Linked DNA regions of Homo sapiens: region 1 is linked to region 2. Evidence: promoter capture Hi-C in 16 types of primary human blood cells and fetal thymus (Javierre and others, 2016). All regions are on one chromosome and are shown on one strand. The core of a region is centred on a gene start or on the middle of the fragment in contact, and the rest is flanking DNA. Distances in the headings are between cores, read along the strand shown.

Region 1 (3,062 bases), core at 90-2,589, 530 kb before region 2:
ACACTGGCTTATCACCAAGACCAGAAACTGGAAACTGCTTTATCTCTAGATAAGTTAAAATTAGAAATATGTTAGAAAAATTAGAAAATTAAAATGTAAAAAAACCCAAACATGTTTCTTTACAAGGAAAAAAGTACACGGTATGAGTGGATGTTTCAAACGGTTGTAAAAGAGGAAATAAGAAACCACTGAGAAGGAACAAGATAACCACACGACTAACTTGGGATAACGTTTTAATAAGTACTTGCTTAAGCTTCTTAAGAATTGGGGCAAAACGAAAATTAGAATAGGATCTCATATTCTGTCAGAAAACAGGAGCCCAATTTGAAGGGAAGCCCTTTTCTGACCATCAAACCCAAGGACCATGGATGCACATACTGGGATACCGAGTAAAGGCATCCTCCACTGCAGCTGTGATGATGGAAGGACATTTCTCAAATGCCATTAAAAAGCTGGCTGGTGATGAAGGCCATGGACGTGACATCTCATCACGGTTTGGTGAAAGCGTTTACACGGGGAGCTGGGGACAAAGTGGATGACATCTCACCACAGTTCGGTGAGAGCATTTACACAGGGAGCTGGGGACAAAGTGGTGGATGCAGTTTCCCATTATCCGGCAGCACAAGGAACATGCTGAGGGAGCGTGGATGGGAGGACACGCAGCCTGCCCTGCACAGACTGTCACATGAGAGAATGGTCCCCAGCCAACAGGTCAGCTCCAGGAAGAGGCACGTGAGTGTGGGAGGCGGGGACCCCTGGTGGGGCTGAGTGGCGGGGACGCTGGGGGCTGACGCTGTCACAGGACAAAGGCTCAGGCAGAAGGCTATCCTGTAAAGTGGCTACAGTGTGGACGAGGCCCACAGTGTTCCCAGGCAGTTGGGAATCTTTCCAGGGACTTATCTGAGGCCTCCGAGTGTGGCATGTGACGTTAAACACCAAGAGATGCTCTGACCCTGAAGAATGAGAAGGGCAGATGCTCCCCTCGGCCACAGCGAGGGCAAAGGTGCCCAACTGCTGTTCTGCACGAGCGTCTAATTTTTCATCAAACTTTGACAGGTAAAGGTGGGTGAATGTGCTGCATAATTAAACCCCAAACAGCTGAATTATTAACTGTAGCAGTTATTTTGAATTTGTCCAGCTAAATACAATTGTTTCTGTGTTAGCAGAGTTGATATTAAGCTGTTCTCAATGGTTTCTCCAACTTCTTAAGGCTCCCCTCCCCCAAAAAATATCATCTCACCTACCACTGAGGAGGACTGCTTACCACTACTAGATAGGGTAAACGGGCAGGAACCCAATTCACCTAAAGGTGAGTTCCTCAGAAATCAATTAATAAGTTAAACTGGGAAACACCGCTTAGAATCAGCCGGTGCTCATCACAGCAGCTGTGGACTTGCCAGAGTGAAGTGGCAGATGCTGACGGGGCCCAGATCTCTCGTCCTCACGGCTGGGCAGGCACTCACAGCCCCGGCTATTCCCATGTGAATGTGAGGGTGTCTGTGCACTTACAAATACACCCCAAGGCTCGTCAACAACCGGTGCCACTAGCCACAGTAGTTTGTCCAGCTAAATACAATTATTTAGCAAAGAAGAGCGTACCCAGGTAGTCATTCCCCTTGAAGAAAAGCGGGCGATGTTATCTTCAAAGTCAATGCCGCCTACTCCAATCACATCCATTTGATCAGCAGGGTTATTCAGAGTGCTATATTGAGACCAAAAAAAAAAAAAAAGAAAAGAAAAAGAAAAAAACAAGAGAAATAATTTAAAATGGATGATTCAAACCAGGGCGAATACTCCCAGAACAATCTAACACTGTATGAGCTGCTTCTGTGGGAAGACGTGTGCAGCTCCTCACGGCTGTCCTGTGAAACGCATGATCCTGCCACGTTCATGCTGTGCTCACATTACGCCCTCTCACCTGCAACGCCCCTCCTTTCTTCTCCTCCCTGTCAACTTGGCACACTGGGGCTCAAGGCTCACGTTTTCCCTCCAGCAATCCAAGCCTTAAGCATCTGTACTTGCCTTGAACCTCACAACACTTAACACAATCACAATTTATCACCTAACGACACATTCTCACATCACTTTCAAATTGTTCCCAGCACATTCATCTTAACTCCCCAGCTAAATCACACACTTCTCCTGGAAGAAACCATAACCACACATTTACATCTGCCAAGGTCAGGAAGTGGTAAGTTTTCGATTGACCTGTGGTGGTGTTCTACCCTCCTCATAGGGAACTGTAGAAGGACTATCATTACTCTGTAATCTTGAGCTCCTTAGAGTCTCTCCAATACCTTAAGTGCACTAGATCTGCAAAGAAATTATAGTGAAATAAATAATGGCAAAAATGTGTAAACCGTAAAGTCAAGATAAAGATGAACCATTTGAAAATATGAGACACTCAGTTATAAAACTGCATTGCTAAGCTTTATTATGGCTCCACTACCAAAAAAAATGAACTCTTTGACAAATCAACAACTACATACAACTGATTCCAAGTGGCTTAAGAGATAATAGCAGCATGAAGTTCTCCTTCTAGAGTGTGTTTTTAACTGACAATTCCCAACACACCGAGAAAAAGTGGTACTGCCTCCTCAGCCCACTGGCCACCAATATCCTACCAGCTGGTCATTCAGAGGAACGAATAATGATTTTCTGATGACTGATGCTAGATGTTTACACATTCCCAGGAACTCAAGGAGCAGAGGCTGGTACAGAAGTCACTGACAGAAACTCCCACTGAAGTTGACCAAAAAAATACCACCTTCCCACCCTCCTCTACCTGCTAAGCCCTATAATGCTTAGTGTACTTTAAACCCTTAAAAAATAAGGGAACGCATCAAGAAATCATTGCTGGTATTGAAAAGGAGGGACGTGAGGCTGCAGGCTTGCTGGCACCACAGAGTCTAGGAGCACCAAGGGCACAGGACCCAGACAAAGAGACCACAGCAAAGGGGACCGGAGGATGTGTGCCTCATTCCCAGAGGGGCTGACGTATGCATGTTACTGTCCTCAGACCAGCCCTGGAAGCAGTCCCACCAGATGCCCAAGCAGAAAAA
Region 2 (3,223 bases), core at 147-2,646:
GAGCCTCTGCCACTACCGAAGGGTTTATGGCGATGCCTGCCACGTGGTCTTTCTTTTCATGGTTCACAAGCCACAGGGAAGTGCCTAAGGCACACAAATCTTAAGTATACAGTCTGATGATTTTTCACGCGGGTACACACCTGCATAACCCCCTCCCAGATCAACAAATGTCTACAGAGACATTTTCAGCTCCCAGCAGTCCGGGTGGTGTGCCCCTCCCCATCAGTGGCTATCTAGCCCCAAAAGCTAATCTCGATTCTGACATTCACACCATAGATTAGTTTCGCCTTGTCTAGGATTTCTAAATGGAATCATATGGTGTGTACTCTTTTGCATCTGATTCTACTCGTCAAATTAAAAATCACATAAAATCAGCACACGGGCAGACAATGATAGCGGGAGAAAGGAGGGCGCGGCTGAGTTTCTTTCCCTTCCAAGCAGCCCCCTAGCCTGTTCGTATTTGGGCTCAGTGACTGATCAAAGGGGACAGTGGGAAGAGCTGGATGGACACTGGAGTTTGGAAACACAGGAGTTGACCTTAGAAAACCAGTGGACCGCAGGGGGCAAAAGAGCTGCCCCGCCTGGAGAAGGCATTGTAGGATGGCGGAGGCAGGTGGGTCACTTCTGTTGCTTCGGATGTCCAGAGGGGAGAAGGTTTTATGAGGCCTTAAAACGCTCACACCGGGTTCCTCCCACGCCATGCGCCAGGGGCACCCCATGTGGCCACCGGTTCCTCCCGGGTTCGCTCTGGCCGGGGCTCCCCGGGTGCAGACAACCTCCCAACGACCGCGCATCCGCCCGGCAGGCGCGCCTCCCTACCTGTGCACTGCTGGATGAAGTGCTGGTACTCCGCTCCCTGCTCGCCGGGGACGATGGTGGAGCCGTCATATTTAAAAGTCACCCTTTGGGTTGGGAGAAGAAAAAAACACACACACACATCAGCGCTGGTGGCCGCGCGACGCGGCGCTTGCAGAGGACAATCTAACAGACGCGCTGGCCACGGAGAAGCCCGCGGGGGCCTGGCACGCCGTCCCGGAATAAGGCGAGGAAGACAGCGCGGGAGGCCCGAATCCGTCCCGCCTGGAGGCCGGCTCGGTGCACGAGGCCCCGCGCGAGCCCGGGGAGCGGGGCGTGGAGACGAATGAAAAGTTCCTACCAGATGACGGCCGAGCCGTCGTCGCGCACCAGGTTGTACGCCGCCCGGCAAGCCTCTTTGTCGATCTTGGTGGCCATCGCCGCGGAGCCGCAGCGGGACACTGTCCGGGGCGGCCGAGCGCGCCCCTGGCCGGCGGCGGGGATGGGAGCGCGGCGGGTACGCGCCGAGGGCGCACGGGCTGGCGGCGGTGGCGACGGCTACGCGGCGCCTGCAAGCTGCGAGCGCGGCGGCGGCTTCCACTGCGGACGGAGAGCGCGCGGGGACCCCAGGCCGTGGCCCGCCCCGCCCCCCCGCGCCCATTGGCCGCCCAGGCGGCGGCCCGCCTCTTCATTGGCCGTCGGGCTGCGGGGGCGGAGCGTCTTGATTCTCTGGCGGCCAATCCCAGACCGGAAGGCTTGCGCAACTCCGCGGTGGGGGCTGGAGTAGGGGCTTTGCCTCCTCCCTCTCACTCTCCCTCCTCCCTCCCGCTCTCTTCTCCCCCAACATCCCTCTTCTCTCTCCTTCTCCTTCTCACTTCCCCTCCTCCCCTCCCGACCCCTCCCTGGAAACTCCCACTACCCCAACCCCCTTTCCCACCCCGCCTTCCTCCTCTCCCTCCTCCTTCCTCTTCTTCCCCCACTGCTTGCTTCCCCCACTTCCCTGACCTCTTCCCCCTCCCTTCCCTCCCCCTCTTTCTCCCTTCCCCCTTTATTCTTCTTCCTCTCTCCTCCTCCCTCTTCTTGCCTATCCCAGCCCAAAACTTCTCCATCCTCCCTATTTCCTTCTCCCCAAGCTCTCCTCTTTCCTCCTCCTTGACCCCCTCCCCTGCTGCCCCCGGCTTCGCCTCCCTCTTCTCCACTTACCCTCCTGGCATCTCCTCCCTCCCTGTCCCCTACTCCCTCCTCCTATTCCCCCTCTCCCCCTTCCTCATTCTCCCCACCCCCCTGCCCCTGAGGCTGCAGGGCTGCAGAGCTCCACAGGGGACCTCCACGTGGATGATGTAATGCGTCAAACCCAAGGAGACAGGCTGGCCACTGTCCCTACCCCAGCGTTTGGTTCCATGGATTCTAGGTGGGGAGGAACTGGAAAGAATGAAGCATTTTAAATAGGAGGGGGTAGAAAGTGGACTGCTTCCAAAACGCTGGTGGGCTCGCGTTTACTCTGGATTCTGGTCATTTGCATTCCTATCTTAACCTCTCCCTTTGGGCTCCTCTGAAAGCACGAGCTGACTCATTCTGTCTTCCTCATTCCTTCACTGACTCATTCATTCATTCCCTCATCCAGCCATTCCACAGAGACCAGTTACAGCGTCCAGGTAGGTAAAAAGGCAGGATCCTGAAGACTGGGCTCTTGAATTGCATCCAGTACTGCCACTTTCCAACTGGGGGCCATTGGAAAGCCTCAAAACCTCTTTTAAATGACTCCTCAAATGGGAAAAATAGTATAACTGACATCACTGCTTTGTTTTAAGTGTAATTGAAATGATACTTGGAACAAATATACTAGACATTCGATAAAATGTCATCATTGTTGGTTATTAAGTGATAAAAACAAATCCTAAATAGAAACCCAAAAGGTCAGGGACAATGTCCAATTAATGTTAGAATTCTCAACAAGCAAAAAAACAAAAACGAGAAATTGAATGAATCAATCAATCAGTCAATCAATGGGTAGTTGAATGGGTGGGTGGACAGGAACACAGTTTCAGAAGAGTAGAGGCAGATGCTGTTATAAATAAGACAAAAAGAAATTCACATTTCATACCCCACAAAGCCATTCCTACCTTACTCCTTGACAAGGGTAATGGGACAATTGGCCATTAGAAAGAAGAACAAAGGTGGATCCTTTGATCAGGGAAAATTCCAAAAGGATCAAAAATTTAAACACAAATAAAGGAAATCAGACCAGTCGCAGTGGATCACTCCTGTAATCCCAGCATTTTGGGAGGCTGAAGTGGGAGGATCTCATAAGCTCAGGAGTTCGAGACCAGCCTGGATAACAGGGGGAAAGCCCATCTCTACTAAAAATACAAAAATTAGCCAGGCGTGGTGGCAGACGACTGTAATCCCAGCTACTTGGGAGGCTGAG

What was found. Contacts are between HindIII fragments. The CHiCAGO score rates a contact against its expected background, and 5 or more counts as called.
Region 1: a contact is called between a fragment that was not itself captured here and the fragment with the promoter of COTL1 in region 2, in 1 of 17 cell types (naive CD4 T cells). The highest score is 7.4, in naive CD4 T cells.

What each region holds. Positions count from the first base shown.
Region 1 is chr16:84,085,759-84,088,820 of GRCh38, forward strand. MBTPS1 (membrane bound transcription factor peptidase, site 1) reads right to left here. Exons shown (of 23, transcript NM_003791.4): 9 at 1,600-1,702. Among named protein-coding and RNA genes, the nearest start is that of MBTPS1, 30 kb to the right of the region's middle. The HindIII fragment of the contact is 2,176 bases long and covers 252-2,427 here.
Region 2 is chr16:84,616,682-84,619,904 of GRCh38, forward strand. COTL1 (coactosin like F-actin binding protein 1) reads right to left here and starts at 1,397. Exons shown (of 4, transcript NM_021149.5): 1 at 1,157-1,397; 2 at 820-902. The coding sequence starts at 1,233. RefSeq lists silencers at 1,226-1,275, 1,296-1,655. The HindIII fragment of the contact is 6,545 bases long and covers 1-3,223 here.